Linked DNA regions of Homo sapiens: region 1 is linked to region 2. The links are contacts of gene promoters, found by promoter capture Hi-C in human tissues and cell types (Jung and others, 2019). All regions are on one chromosome and are shown on one strand. The core of a region is centred on a gene start or on the middle of the fragment in contact, and the rest is flanking DNA. Distances in the headings are between cores, read along the strand shown.

Region 1 (6,986 bases), core at 1,861-4,360, 830 kb before region 2:
GCAGGCCTGCAGCTTCCCTCTGCGCGCTCACAACACTCTAGGAAGCTATGGGAGGTGAGGCCCGTAGTGGAGAAGAATTGAAGGAGAAAAACGGAGGGCTGTTCTGGTGTGGCGGTGAGGTTCAGAGGAAGGGGAAAGTGTCCCATATGGACCTCCTAAAGGAGGCAGCATTGGGGGGTTGGGGGGCGGAGTCTGAGGGAGGAGAGGGTAATCAGGTGGGCGCGTTCCGGGGGCCGAGCGCGGCCTCGCGGGGCCCCTCTGGGAGGGAGGCGAGCAACATGTGGGGCCACGGATGGAGAAAGGTGAAATGCGGTAAGTATTTTGAAAAGAAAATTGAAAAGTTCTTTTGAGCAACTTCCACCAAATTCTGCCCGGGCCCCGTCCCTAGGTCTCTGGAACGTTCTGTGGGTGAAAGCGAGTTACTTTGAATCGAGGAGAAGCCAGTAGGGTTTGGAAGCCTTGAAAGGCACCGCTTTGACCTTTTGTAAAAGTTACTCAAGCAGCAGCTGCGTGATGAAGGGTTGGTTCTATGAACCGATTAAAAGCCCTTTACAAGGAAAATTCCAAGAATGAGGGAAACTTATTCCGGGAAAAGCCGTTTTTTGTAATGTTATTTGAACAATGAGACACTTTTATTACTTAAACTAGAACGTCTGCTGTTGGCCTATTTTAGTTTTCAAGATAGAGTTGGATACCTGCCTTACAGAAATACGAAATTTAATTTCCCTTAATTCTGTCCTCTTGTGTGCAGTGAGCGTCAGCTGACTGCCTGGCTAATGCTTTGAGTAGATTCCAGATCATATTGTTCTTACATTGTGAAAACGTCAAACCAGCAAAGCTGCAACTTCGCAACTTGGCATTTGTTAACTATGCCCATAAGAAGAATCTTTTCAATGAGGGAAGGAATTTACGGGTTGTATAATGAATCTAGGAGCCGGGGCCAGCCTATGGCAGATTTTTTTTTCCGGGTTGTGGGAAAATCTTACTCCGTAATATTCCAGCATAAAGTAAATAAATGATTTTACGGTTTTTTTTTCTCTTTAAACTAACTGATATTGTGTCGCCGATAAGCTTGATATCTTTAAATTAGTTTTTTAAAAGACTGCTACATTAGAGTGTATCTAACATTCATAATAAACATTCATTGGAACATTCCGGGGAAATCATGAAAAGACTTAAAATTACTGAACTCATTCTGTTTACTGTTTTCTGTCCTCATTGTTGTTTTCCTTAGGCAGAATAAGAAATCAGATAAGATTTTAAGCCAGTGCCAGCCAGTTTTTTTAAGGAATGTTATGCTATGTAAATACCACAGGTTTTAAGTGTGTGTTTTGCTGGGCAGAAGAAAGATTGTGAAGTTTATATTGACAGGAACTCCACAATATACTTTTGACTTCCAAATTGATTCCTTTGGCTTTATTAAAATGTAAGTTTTAATAACAGCTCCATTTATTGTTTAAACTAGGTCTTCTCCTGTCTCTAAAGCGATACTTAATATGTTTTACAGATGACAAAACCGAGCCCCAGAGGTTAAAGTAACTTTACTTAGTAAAAGTAAAGTAGTTTAACTGGGATTTAGATCCAGGTCATGCTGATGTCAAATCATGGACGGGATGTTAGCAATTCAGGCCTGTCCGACTCCCCAGGTTAGACAAATTCTATCGTATCTCTCGCCAAACTAGTGTTTAAAAGTTGTATCTCCATTAATCATTTTCTTTGTGAGTCACTATGTCATTCTTCATTTTCTCATATGAGTTTTATTGAAAATTAACTGTCTTTAAATATTTGGGGCTGAATATGTGGTATTAAAATCAGTGAAAAACAACATGTTGGTCGTTTGGCGTTTTGTTAACTAATATTTGATCCCTGTAACCTCATGATAGAGGAATTATTCTCAGTGAGAGAACCAAAGCTCAGAAGTTAGATGTCTAAGGTCATTCAAGTGTAAATAATGTGGGGGCTAAAGTCTGAAGTCTGACTTCTAGAACATAAATTTCTGGCTTCAAAATTATTTTTGTACTTTCCCATAAGTCAAAGGTTCTTAATCTAGGTTTTTGGATAGAATTGAGGAAGTAAGTACCTAAGCTTGGTTGAGGAAAAAAATTTGCGTGTTTATTTTCTCTAGCTTCTAACTGAAATCTAAATGGAAAAGAAGTGAAAATTCTTTAAATGTTAATGGCAGCAACAGTGTATGTGACCTTGTCACCAAGACAAATCACTTTTTTACATGTATTACAGCTTTTGCAGTTATCTTGAAATATTTATGCTCATTACTTGCTATATGTCAAAAATATTGTTAACGTATTGCTATATTAGACATTTTAAAATATTTTGATAACTGCGTTTCAATATAATTGGTTTACTTTGTGATCCTATATATTTTAGAAATGTAAAAAAACGGAGAAGAGATCCATAGATTAATTGGACTACTAAAGAGGTCTGTGTCACAGAAGAGGTTAAGAACTGCTTTACTAAACCAACTTGCTTGTGGATCATCTTTGGCAGGGTTAATCTGGGATCCCTGGGTCCTCTGCAGTTGTGTTCAATACCTTTTACTTATGTGTATTTTTCTGGAGAGATTCCAGCTTAACTATCCCACTAGAATCAGTAGGATAGATAATAGCAATATAACAATAACAACAGTAGTAGTATATACTTGTATCGTGCTTTGTGTCAGGAACGTTTGATGTTTTTGCATATATAGATATCTGTACATCTTAAGTCTCAATATCTCTATGAGGTGTTAGTATCCCCATTTTAGTGATAAGTAAGGCAGCTGGGCGCAGTGGCTCATGCCTGTAATCCCAGCACTTTGGGAGGCTGAGGTGGGTGGCAAATCACCTGAGGTCAGGAGTTTGAGATCAGCCTGGCCAACATGGTGAAACCCCATCTCTACTAAAAATACAAAAATTAGCCAGAGGTGGTGGCACACACCTGTAATCCTAGCTACTCGGGAGGCTAAGGTAGGAGAATCGCTTGAACCTGGGAGGCAGAGGTTGCAGTGAGCTGAGATGGCACCACTACACTCCAGCCTGGACAACAGAGTGAGACTCTGTCTCAAAAAAAAGAAACTAAGGCACATATAATTTAAACTTGCCTAAGTTTATACAGCTAGTGAACATGGAAGCTTGTATTAGAACTCATCAACCACCTACTTGTATTGGAGTAGAATATATTGCAGACAAGGAATCAATCCTATGTAAATAATACTTAGATGCAACTTTTTAAAACCTGGCCTTGGGCCCAATGTGGTGGCATGTACCTGTAGTCCCAGCTACTAGGGAGGCAGAGGCAGGAGTTTCGCTTGAGTATGGGAGGTCAAGGCTGGAATGAGCCGTGATTGTGCCACTGCATTCCAGGCCGGGTGACAGAGCAAGACCAACTATATTGACTTCAGTAGATTATTGGTTTGTTTTATTTTTTTCCTCTTGAGACCGAGTCTCGCTCTGAGACCGAGGCTAGAGGGTGGCGCAGTCTCAGCTCACTGCAACCTCCGCCTCCTGGGTTCAAGCAGTTTTTTTTTTTTTTTTTTTTTTTTGAGACGGAGTTTCCACTCTTGTTGCCCAGGCTGGAGTGCAGTGGCGCCATCTCGGCTCACTGCAACCTCCACCTCCTGGGTTCAAGTGATTCTCCTGCCTCAGCCTCCCGAGTAGCTGGGACTGTAGGCGCATGCCACCACGCCCAACTAATTTTTGTATTTTTAGTAGAGATGGGGTTTCACCATGTTGGCCAGGATGGTCTCGGTCTCTTGACCTCATGATTCGCCCACCTCGGGCTCCCAAAGTGTTGGAATTACAGGCGTGAGCCACCACACCTGGCGGGTTCAAGCAGTTCTGCCTCAGCCTCCCTAGTAGCTGGGACTTCAGGCATGTGCCACCATGCCTGGCCTTTTTTTTTTTTTTCCTGATTTTTAGTAGACACGGGTTTCACGATGTTGGCCAGGCTGGTCTCGAACTGCTGACCTCAAGTGATCCGCCCGCCTTGGCCTCCTAAAGTGCTGGGATTATAGGCGTGAGCCACCGCGCCTGGCAGATTTTTTTTCCACCTCTGTTCTGAAGGAGAAACAAACAATGTCCCTCTCTGGAAAGAGGTAAAAGTTTGGATGATTCACAAAGTCATCAAACATGACCTGCCATGAATTCTTTTACAACAAATTGTTTGTAAGTTTGAAACTGCAGTGTACTACCTTCATCTGAATGCTATCAAGTTACTTAAAACTTGTGAGCCCTAAGGAGGCAGATAGTAATTTAAAAAAATTTTTTCATTTCTCTCTTTTATTTACAGTTTTTTTTTTAATTTTTAATTTTTTGAGACACAGTCTCGTTTGCTGCAGCCTCCACCTCCCCAGCTCAAGTGATCCTCCCACCTCAGTCTCCAAAGTAGCTGGGACTATAGACATGTACCACCATGCCTGGCTAATTTTTTTCTTTTTTGGTATTTTTTGTAGAGACAGGGTTTTGCTTTTTTGCTCAAGCTGAAATTTTTGTTTAAATAAAAAAAATTAAAACTAGAGACTGGGAAGGGTGGGTATGCAGTGACTACTGAAATTGGGTTTCTGTCTCTGTTTGAGTTTTTCCCTGAAAATGAAGACAGTTGTCCCTCAGTATTTGTGGGAAATTGGTTCCAGGACCCTCTGTAGATGCCAAAAACCTTGGATGCTCAAGTCTTACATAAAAAGGCATAGTATTTGCGTAGCACCTATGCACATCTTTGTGTATATGTTAAATAATCTCTAGATTATTTATAATACCTATTAAAATGTAAATGCTTTATAAATAGTTGCTATACTGTATTATTTATAGAGTGATAAGAAAAAAGTCTCTACATTGTCAGTACAGATGCAATGATTTTTTTTTCTGAGTATTTTTGATTTGTGATTGATTGCTCCACTGATACAGAACCTATGGATATGGAATTCATGGATATGGAGGGCCAACTGTACTTACTTACTTAGGTAGCAGTTAAGTTTCATACGACCTAGGACGCTTTAATAACTCTTAAATAATTAAAACATATTTTAGGTTGGGTAACGTGTCTCATGCCTGTAATCTCAACACTTTGGGAGGCCGAGGTGGGAGGATAGCTTGAGCCCAGTAGTTCAAGACCAGCCTGGGCAACAAAGTTAGACACCCCCCACCCCCACCCCCAACCTCTACAAACAAATTTAAAAAATTAGCCAGGCCTGGTGGCATGTGTTGTGGTCCCAGCTACACTTGAGGTGGGAGGATCACTTGAGCCAGGAGATCGAGGCTGCAGTGAACCATGTTCATGACACTGCACTCCAGCCTGGATGACAGAGTGAGACCCTGCCTCAAAAAATTTTTTTAAATTATTATTTTATTATTTTTTAAGAGACAGGGTCTCACTGTGTTGTCCAGGCTGGAGTACAGTGGCTATTCACAGGTACAGTCATGGCACACCATAGCCTCAAATTCCTGGGCTCAAGCAATCTGGCCTCAGCCTCCTGAGTAGCTGGGACTACAGGCTCATGCCACCAGTTAAAAATATTTTTAATTGTGAAATACATATAACTTAAAAAGTATCATCTAACAGTTTTTTGTTTTTTTGAGAGAGAATCTTGCTCTGTTGCCCAGGCTGGAGTGCAGTTGCATGATCTCGGCTCACTGCAATGTCTGCCTCCTGGGTTCAAGTGATTCTCTCACCTCAACCTCCCCAGTATAGCTGGGACTACAGACGTACGCCACCATGCTGGCTAATTTTTGTATTTTTAGTAGAGACGAGGTTTCGCCATGTTGGCCAAGCTGGTCTCAAACTCCTAACCTCAGATCTACCTGCCTCAGCCTCCCAAAGTGCTGGGATTGCAGGCTTGAGCCACCGCGCCCAGCCCATCTTAACAGTTTTTTTGTTTGTTTTTTGAGATGGAATCTTGCTCTGTCGCCCAGGCTGGAGTACAGTGGCATGATCTCGGCTCACTGCAACCTCCGCCTCCTGGGTTCAAGCGATTCTTCTGCCTCAGCCTCCTGAGTAGCTGGGACTACAGGCGCGTACCACCACGCCTAGCTATTTTTTGTATTTTTAGTAGAGACGGAGTTTCACCATATTGGTCAGGCTGGTCTCGAACTCCTGACCTTGTGATCCACCCTCCTCGGCCTCCCAAAGTGCTGGGATTACGGGCGTGAGCCACTGCGTCTGGCCGAAGCTTTGTTTTCTTTAAGGTTTAAACTAATTTAAGAGAAGTATAACTTCTAAGTTTTCATCTCAGCCTTGTTACTAACATACTCTGATTTAGGGCAAGTCAAACAATTTATAATTATTTAAAGTTTTTTTTATAGTTGGAGAGTATACTTTTGGTTGGGCAAATAAAAGTTTTAAAAGAGGAATGAAGATGGCAGTATGTTAAAATACACATTTACTTGCAGCATTTAAAGGAGTACAGCTGGGCGGGGTGACTCATGCCTGTAATCCCAGAATTTTGGGAGGCCGAGGCAAGTGGATCACTTGAGGCCAGGAGTTTGAGACCAGCCTGGCCAACATGGCGAAACCCCATGTCTACTAAAAATAAAAATATTATCTGGGCATGTGCCTGTAGTCCTAGCTACTTGGGAGGCTGAGGCACACCTTGAAGCAGAGGTTGCAGTGAGCCGAGATCATGTCACTGCACTCCAGCCTGGGTGACAGTGAGACTGTCTCAAAAAAAGGAAAATTAATTAAAGGAATACAAATGTTAAAATGCAAATAGGCACTTTGCACTTACTCTTTTGAAAAAAATTATAATGTAAAAGTGTAAGTAAATGTAAGAAAAAGAAACATCTAAGTATGTACTCATCTTTCCTGTCTTACCTGTGTCCTTGTCCCACCACTTGAACCAATCTTTGGTTCACAGAATATCTCTACTGTTTTTAAATGACGGGCTCTAAACCAAAGACAGAAGAGTGCTTTAGATGAATATTATTAGGGGTAGGATGTGAACTGCATTCATAAATGCCAAACTCCAGGGATGAGTTGAGTTAAGTTCTATTGGGTTT
Region 2 (7,151 bases), core at 2,470-4,969:
TGCCATCATCACACCTAAATGACTAAATTTGATTCTAAATGGTATCTCAGACATACGTCCACTCTTGCCCTTTCTTTAACCTATTCTATATTCTTTAGCAACCAGAGGGATTTTTCCTTTTCTTTTCTTTATTTTTTTGAGATAGCCTCTATCACCGAGGCTGGCAGAGTACAGTGGTGTGACCACGACTCACTGCAGCCTCGACCTCCCGGGCTCAAGCAGTCCTCCTATCTCAACCCCTCGAGTAGCTGGGATCACAGGTGCGTGCCTCTATGCCTGGATACTTTTTTAGAAATTTCTTGCCGAGATGGGGTTTCACCACGTTGCACAGGCTGGTCTTGAACTCTTGGGCTCAAAGAATCCTCCTGCCTTGGACTCCCAAATTGTTGGGAATGCAGGCATGAGCCACTGTGCCTGGCCCAGAAGCATTTTTCTAAAAGAAAAACACAAGCCAGGAGCAGTGGATCACGCCTGTAATCCCAAGTTTGGGAGGCCGAGGCAGGAGGATTGCTTGAGGCCAGGAGTTCTAGACTACTCTAGGCAACAAAGTGAGACTCTGTCTCTATAAAAAATTTAAAATTAGCCAGGCATGGTGGCAAGCACCCACTGTCCCAGCTACTCGGGAGGCTGAGGTGAGAGGATGAACTGAGACCAGGAGTTCAACGTTGCCGTGAGCTGTGACTGCACCACTGCACTCCAGCTTGGGTGACAGAGCAAGACCCTGTCCCAATCAATCAATCAATCAAACAAAAACAAGATCATATCACTTTCCTGCTTAACATTCTTCAGTGGCTAACTAGTGCCCTTAACATAGAATCCAGTATCTTCATGTGGGATCTTACATGGGCTCTAAGGCGTCCCTGCAAGGTCTGGCTCACAGTTCTTCAGCGTCAATTTTTTTTTTTTTTTTTTTGAGACAGAATCTTGCTCTGTCACCCAGGCTGGAGTGCAATGGCACGATCGCGGCTCACTGCAACCTCCGCCTCCCAGGTTCATGCAATTCTCCTGCCTCAGCCTCCCAAGTAGCTGGGATTACAGGCACGCACCACCATGCCCAGCTAATTTTTGTGTTTTTAGTAGAGACGAGGTTTCCCCATGTTGGCCAGGCTGGTCTCGAACTCCTGACCTCAAGTCATTTGCCCGCCTTGGCCTCCCAAAGTGCTGGGATTACAGGCATGAGCCACCGCACCCGGATCTTCAGGGTCATCTTTTATCAGTCCCCTTACCAGTATGCTCTGGCTACACTGAACTCTTTCATGCCCTCCCCCTCTATAAGCCTTCTCACCTCTAGGCCTTTGCATAAGCAGTTCCCTCTTCCAGGAACCCTCTTCACTTGCTTAACCTGCTCTCACCCTTCAGATTTCATCTCAGACATCACTTGCATCAGGAAACCTTCCCTGACTACATCAGAATAGAGTAGGTGCCTCACCTATGTGTTCTCCTCACACTCCATGCTGTCTTTATGTCAGCACTAATCATATTATGTGTTCACTTTTCTGTCTCTCCCATTAGGTAGACCATAAATTCCATGAGAGTATGGACTATGCCTGTCTCTTCATTATTATTTCCCTAGTGCCTGTCACAGGGCCTGGCACATAATAGGTGCTCAAAAAATATTTGTTAAATTAATGTAAGAAAGAATGTTTGATAAATGACCAAATAAACATCTTCATCTCATTGGGGAATCTACGAGAATGAAGAAAATGCCAAAGTTTGATCCTGTTCAAGAAAGTAGCTAATTACTACTACTTTTTTTTGTAGAGATGAAGTCTCACTATGCTGCCTAGGCTGGTTCTGAACTCCTGGCTCAAGCGATCCTCCTGCCTAGGCTGCCCAAAGTGTTGGGATTACAGGTGTGAGCTGTTGCACCCAGCCACCATTTACTTCTTAATTCCACCTGCCAGAGAAAGCACTGGCCTGCAACTCTTTCATTTTTGTTAGTAATCTCATTTGGCTCTGCCCTGGTTTTCCCAATGCCCAGGTCCCACTGTGACAAGCAAAATACCCAACAACCTGTAAAGTAGGCCTGACCAATCTGAGGGCAGTTTACATGAGCAGGAGGTAGGCCCAGGAGAGTTCCTGGGTCCTAAGAGTTAACCCTTTAATCATTGGACAATGGAGGTGGCAAGATCGCTTGAGGCTGGAAATTCAAGACCAGCCTGGCCAACACAGGGAGACCCCATCTCTGTATTAAAAAATGAATAGCACGTGCCTGTAATCCCAGCTAGTCGGGAGGCTGAGGCAGGAGAATCGCTTAGAACCCTGGAGGCGGAGGTTGCAGTGAGCTGAGATTGCGCCACTGCACTCCAGCCTGGCGACAGACCAAGCCTCTGTCTCAAAAATAAATAAATAAATAAATAAATAAATAAATAAATAAATAAATAAATAAAAATAAGGCTCGGCGCAGTGGCTTATGCCTGTAATCCCAGAACCTTGGGAGGCCGAGGCAGGTGGATCACCTGAGGTCAGGAGTTCGAGACCAGCCTGGCCAACATGGTGAAACCCCGTCTCTACTAAAAAATACAAAATTTGCCGGTCGTGGTGGCGGGCACCTGTAATCCCAGCTATTCGGGAGGCTGAGGCAGGAGAATTGCTTGAACCCAGGAGGCGGAGGTTGCAGTGAACCGAGATCATGCCACTGCACTCCAGCCTGGGCGACAGAGCAAGACTCCATCTCAAAAAAAAAAAAAAAAAAAAAAAGAAAAGAAAAAATTAAAACTTTTTTTAGAAAGAAAGAAAACCAGCCTGGCCAACATAGTGAAACCCCGTCTCTACTAAAAATACAAAAATTAGCCAGGAATGGTGGCGCACGCCTGTAGGCCCAGCTACTCAGGAAGCTGAGGCAGGAGAATTGCCTGAACCCGGGAGGTGGAGGCTGTGGTGAGATCGCCCCACTGCACTCTAGCCTGGGCAAGCGAGCAAGACTCCGTCTCAAAAAAAAAAGAAAAAGAAAAGAAAACACTTAATCGCTGCCCTAAAGGATGCCATCTTTGCCCTTAAGGATAATTAGGTTAGAAAGAGAAGCCATACATAGAGAAAAATAGAGGTACCATACAGGTCACCTGCAACAGGTGCTAAAAAAAGGAAAGGGCCACAAACACTCCATGGGTAGTGCAGTTATGTCAGTTTCAGTGCCAGGTGTTGCGTACAGCACGGAAAACATAACCCCTTCCTGTACGTGAGAAAGGCAACGACTGTCCTGGGGAAGACAGGGCAGCGAAGATTCCAGTGCAGGTCTCATTCAGGAAAGGATACATGTGAGCTGGAGTGGCAAAATAAATTTTAACAGAGCTGAAGCTTAAGTTGGGCTTGGTGGGGAGGGACGCATGATAAACTAAGGTGTGGGGAGCCGATTTCAGGCAGTGCGACAAATTTGCAGAAATCTAAGCCCCTCGTGGAAGGTTGCCAAGGTGAGGTGACCTTGAGTGAATGCGTGTAGGTGGAAAAAGGTTCCGGGGAATGCTTGCATCGTTCTGCATCCGAGCGTCCAACAGAGAAAAGATCCTGTTTCCAGACAATACCTGCATTTGGTTTTTCTCCAGCTGAGGGACACCGGTAGGGGGGGGGAGGACAGAAACGAGCAGGGGGTGGGGCCAAGGCGAGTGGGCGGGACCGCGCGGACCCTCCCGCGGCCGACTGGAGGCCCGGAGCAGGGGCGGAGTTTCCGGCGGCAGCGCCACTCGGGCGTCGGGTGACGCTAGGCGGACGGACCATCATGTGACACGGAAGTAGCTCCGAACAGGAAGAGGACGAAAAAAATAACCGTCCGCGACGCCGAGACAAACCGGACCCGCAACCACCATGAACAGCAAAGGCAAGGACCGAGGGTGGCAGAGGCCGTCGGGGGGAGTACTGCTGGCCCAGAGCGAGCGGATTCGGAGCCCAGGGTCACCAAACGCCAGGTTTGGGGTGGGCTGCGCCATGCTCCTTGGCCGGCTGCAGTCCAGGGCGCTGCGCCTGACGCCTTCGTCATACCCAAATTACGGCAGCTTGCTGCCTCCAGGCCCTTTCCTCCGTAAACTCTGTGGCGCAGTTTGGAGCTGCGGGCTCGGGTGGTGGGGGGGCTTGACATGATGGGCATCCGCAGGAGCAAATAGAGCGCTAGCGCAGGCATTCGCGTAGGCCAATGGAGAGCCGGCGGAGGCGGGGCGCCGCGCTCCGGAACCCCCAGCGGGGCCGAACTTAACTACTGAATTGCTGGAGTTGGTTCGTGGGCCGGGGCCTGTGAGGTCTCTTTTCCTTCCCTTCGCACCCCCTCGCCCTTCGCTGACGGGATCAGAACTTCTCCCCTTTTCTGTGGTTGTACCAGTGTGTCTGTCGGAACATGATTCCCATAACGCAGGAATAGGTTGAGGGGGTAAAAAAGGAATAGAAAAAAAAAAAAAAAAAAGGCCGAGCGAGGTTGCTCACGCCTGTAATCCCAGCAGTTTGGGAGGTCGAGGCGGGCGGATCACCTGAGGTCAAGAGTTCGAGACCAGCCTGGCCAACGTGGTGAAACCCCGTCTCTATTAAAAAATACAAAAATCAGCTGGGCGTGGTGGCGGGCGCCTGTAATCCCAGCTACTCGGGAGGCTGGGGTAGGAGAATTGCTTGAACCCAGGAGACGGAGGTTGCAGTGAGCCGAGATCGCGCCACTGCACTCCAGCCTGGGCAAAAGAGCGAGACTCCGTCTCAGAACAAACAAAAAACCAAACCTGATCCCCCGCTTTTCCAGTGAGGATATTCCTCCTCACCCCTCAGCCCTGCACCCTTTTCCCAGTCTCACGGTTCACTTCCATCATTCACACCCTTTGTTTGGAAGTCGACCTTGAATAGTAATCTGTAAGGAAAATCAGAACTGCTGTTACCCACGAAGTCTGGGCTGGTTGTAGACAGGCTGTGGAGACTACCTAGAGCAGAGGCACCCTTGATAAGCCAGAACAGCAGCAGGCCAGAACCCCAGACCTGTCCTGCATTCCGGAGGGAACTTGGGCCCAGGTAGACTTAACCCCTTACTTCGGTATGTTAGTAGGAGCAGTGAGCAGTGCCTTTCTTGTCTCGTTAGAATCCAGCACCTTCCATTTTAAGGGTGCAAAGACAATGCATATTTTCTTAGTTCCAGGAATCAGGCCCTCTGGGGCAGACTATTTGCAAATCCCCTTCTGCTTGCTCCCACTAAGTTAGCTACCCGATATGACCTGCCTCATTTTGGTAGCTCTGTGTAGTAGGCAACCTTCATTTTTTTCTTGTCTTTCAGGTCAATATCCAACACAGCCAACCTACCCTGTGCAGCCTCCTGGGAATCCAGTATACCCTCAGACCTTGCATCTTCCTCAGGCTCCACCCTATACCGATGCTCCACCTGCCTACTCAGAGGTGCTTCCAGTTTGCCAGATTTGAACTAGCTGGGAATACTCTTAGGGTGGTCCTTTAGTCCTTAGCTAAATCTGACTTCACATATTTACTCTTCACAAATGCTAACATGAATAATCTAAAACACTATATAATTTGGCAATTTTTGTCGGAGTTGAAAGTGCATTATTTGATGATTTTGTGTTATTTGGCACAGGCTAAGGTGCAGAAGATGAATTTGCGTTCTGTGAGCCCAACATTAGCTATAGCAGAAAGTGATCCAGGAGAATATTGAAGGCCAGTGGAAAGGCAACTTGTATAATCTTACAAAAAGTATAACCTGCATAAGGAGAATTAAGAATTAGCTCATTAAAGAGATCTCAAATAGGAATGTCATAAAGTAACATTTTGCCTTCTCTTCTGCCTCTTCTAGCTCTATCGTCCGAGCTTTGTGCACCCAGGGGCTGCCACAGTCCCCACCATGTCAGCCGCATTTCCTGGAGCCTCTCTGTATCTTCCCATGGCCCAGTCTGTGGCTGTTGGGCCTTTAGGTTCCACAATCCCCATGGCTTATTATCCAGTCGGTCCCATCTATCCACCTGGCTCCACAGTGCTGGTGGAAGGAGGGTATGATGCAGGTGCCAGATTTGGAGCTGGGGCTACTGCTGGCAACATTCCTGTGAGTATGACCTCATCAGAAGAAACTCAGCCCTTGTGTATTTTAACTTTCTGAAATGACTTCATATTCATTCTCTTACCATTTCTGGATGATAGTTGCCAGTGTTGGTACAACTACTGACATCCAATACTCAGGCAGAAAGTGTTTGAGGGGGCAGAACTGTGGCAAGTGAGTAGCATCTCACTGGGGGCTGAGTTAACCAGATTCTTTTGTTTTCATGTCTGTCGAGTCCTGCTTGCTGCTTTTCCAGTTCATTGTGGTACACTGAACTGGTCTAGTAATGCTCCTTATTCATTCCATAAGCATTTACCATTTACTTAATATTTGCCATCAGCATGGTGTTGCACTAGGAACCCTGATAATTAAAAAAGTAGAATGTATAATCCCTAGTAAGTAGCTTTTAGAAAGATATTAACAATTTTAGTTATCATTTTTTCCTACTTAATTCCCCAGTGCGTGGGATTTAGAGCTCAAATGACTGCTCAGTAACTACATGCTAGAGATGAAGTGAATGTGTCATTAGCGAGCCTTCAGTTTTCCAGTAGTTCATTCAAAAACTGTGTAAGGGCGAAGCACGGTGGCTCACCTGAGGTCAGGAGTTTGAGACCAGGCTGGCCAACATGGTGAAACCCCGACTCTACTATAAATACAAAAATTAGCCGGGCATGGTGGCAGGCGTCTGTAATCCCAGCTACTTGGGAGGCTAAGACAGGAGAATCACTTGAACCTGGGAGGTGGAGGTTGCAGTGAGCTGAGATCCCACCACTGCACTCCAGCCTGGGCGACAAGAGCAAGACTCTATCTCAAAAAAATTAAAAAAAAAAAAAATTAAAAATTAAAAACTATGTAGGGACCATGTGGGATTCATACATGGACTGGCACCCTGTCCCTGTTTTGGGAATGTGAGTAGGACAGTGGTTCTCTACCCTCAAAATGACTGTTGGTCTGGTCTGTTCATGTTCAGAAGGTAGCCATAGGCTTCATCTTAGAGCTGGAACCCTTTGAATGAGTGGTAGGCTCCCTTTCCTGTTTGTATCTTTGGGTTCACATAAAGTATAGACCTACTTTAGAACTCAAATTGGTGGCGGAACTAGCTCCTTAAAACGCAGCTGGTTAGCACATTGCCTCATCCTAACAGGCC

What was found. Contacts are between HindIII fragments. The study calls those that stand out against the background at their distance.
Region 1: a contact is called between a fragment that was not itself captured here and the fragment with the promoter of DAZAP2 in region 2, in 1 of the 25 tissues and cell types used here (dorsolateral prefrontal cortex).

What each region holds. Positions count from the first base shown.
Region 1 is chr12:50,401,168-50,408,153 of GRCh38, forward strand. The region is part of intron 1 of LARP4 (La ribonucleoprotein 4); the gene reads left to right. Among named protein-coding and RNA genes, the nearest start is that of LARP4, 3.8 kb to the left of the region's middle. The HindIII fragment of the contact is 3,065 bases long and covers 1,579-4,643 here.
Region 2 is chr12:51,235,107-51,242,257 of GRCh38, forward strand. It overlaps DAZAP2 (DAZ associated protein 2), which reads left to right and starts at 3,720. Exons shown (of 4, transcript NM_014764.4): 1 at 3,720-3,814; 2 at 5,237-5,355; 3 at 5,765-6,010. The coding sequence starts at 3,802. RefSeq lists enhancers at 2,770-3,407, 3,499-3,793, 3,717-3,966, 4,683-5,319 and a silencer at 3,517-3,626. The HindIII fragment of the contact is 10,606 bases long and covers 1-5,762 here.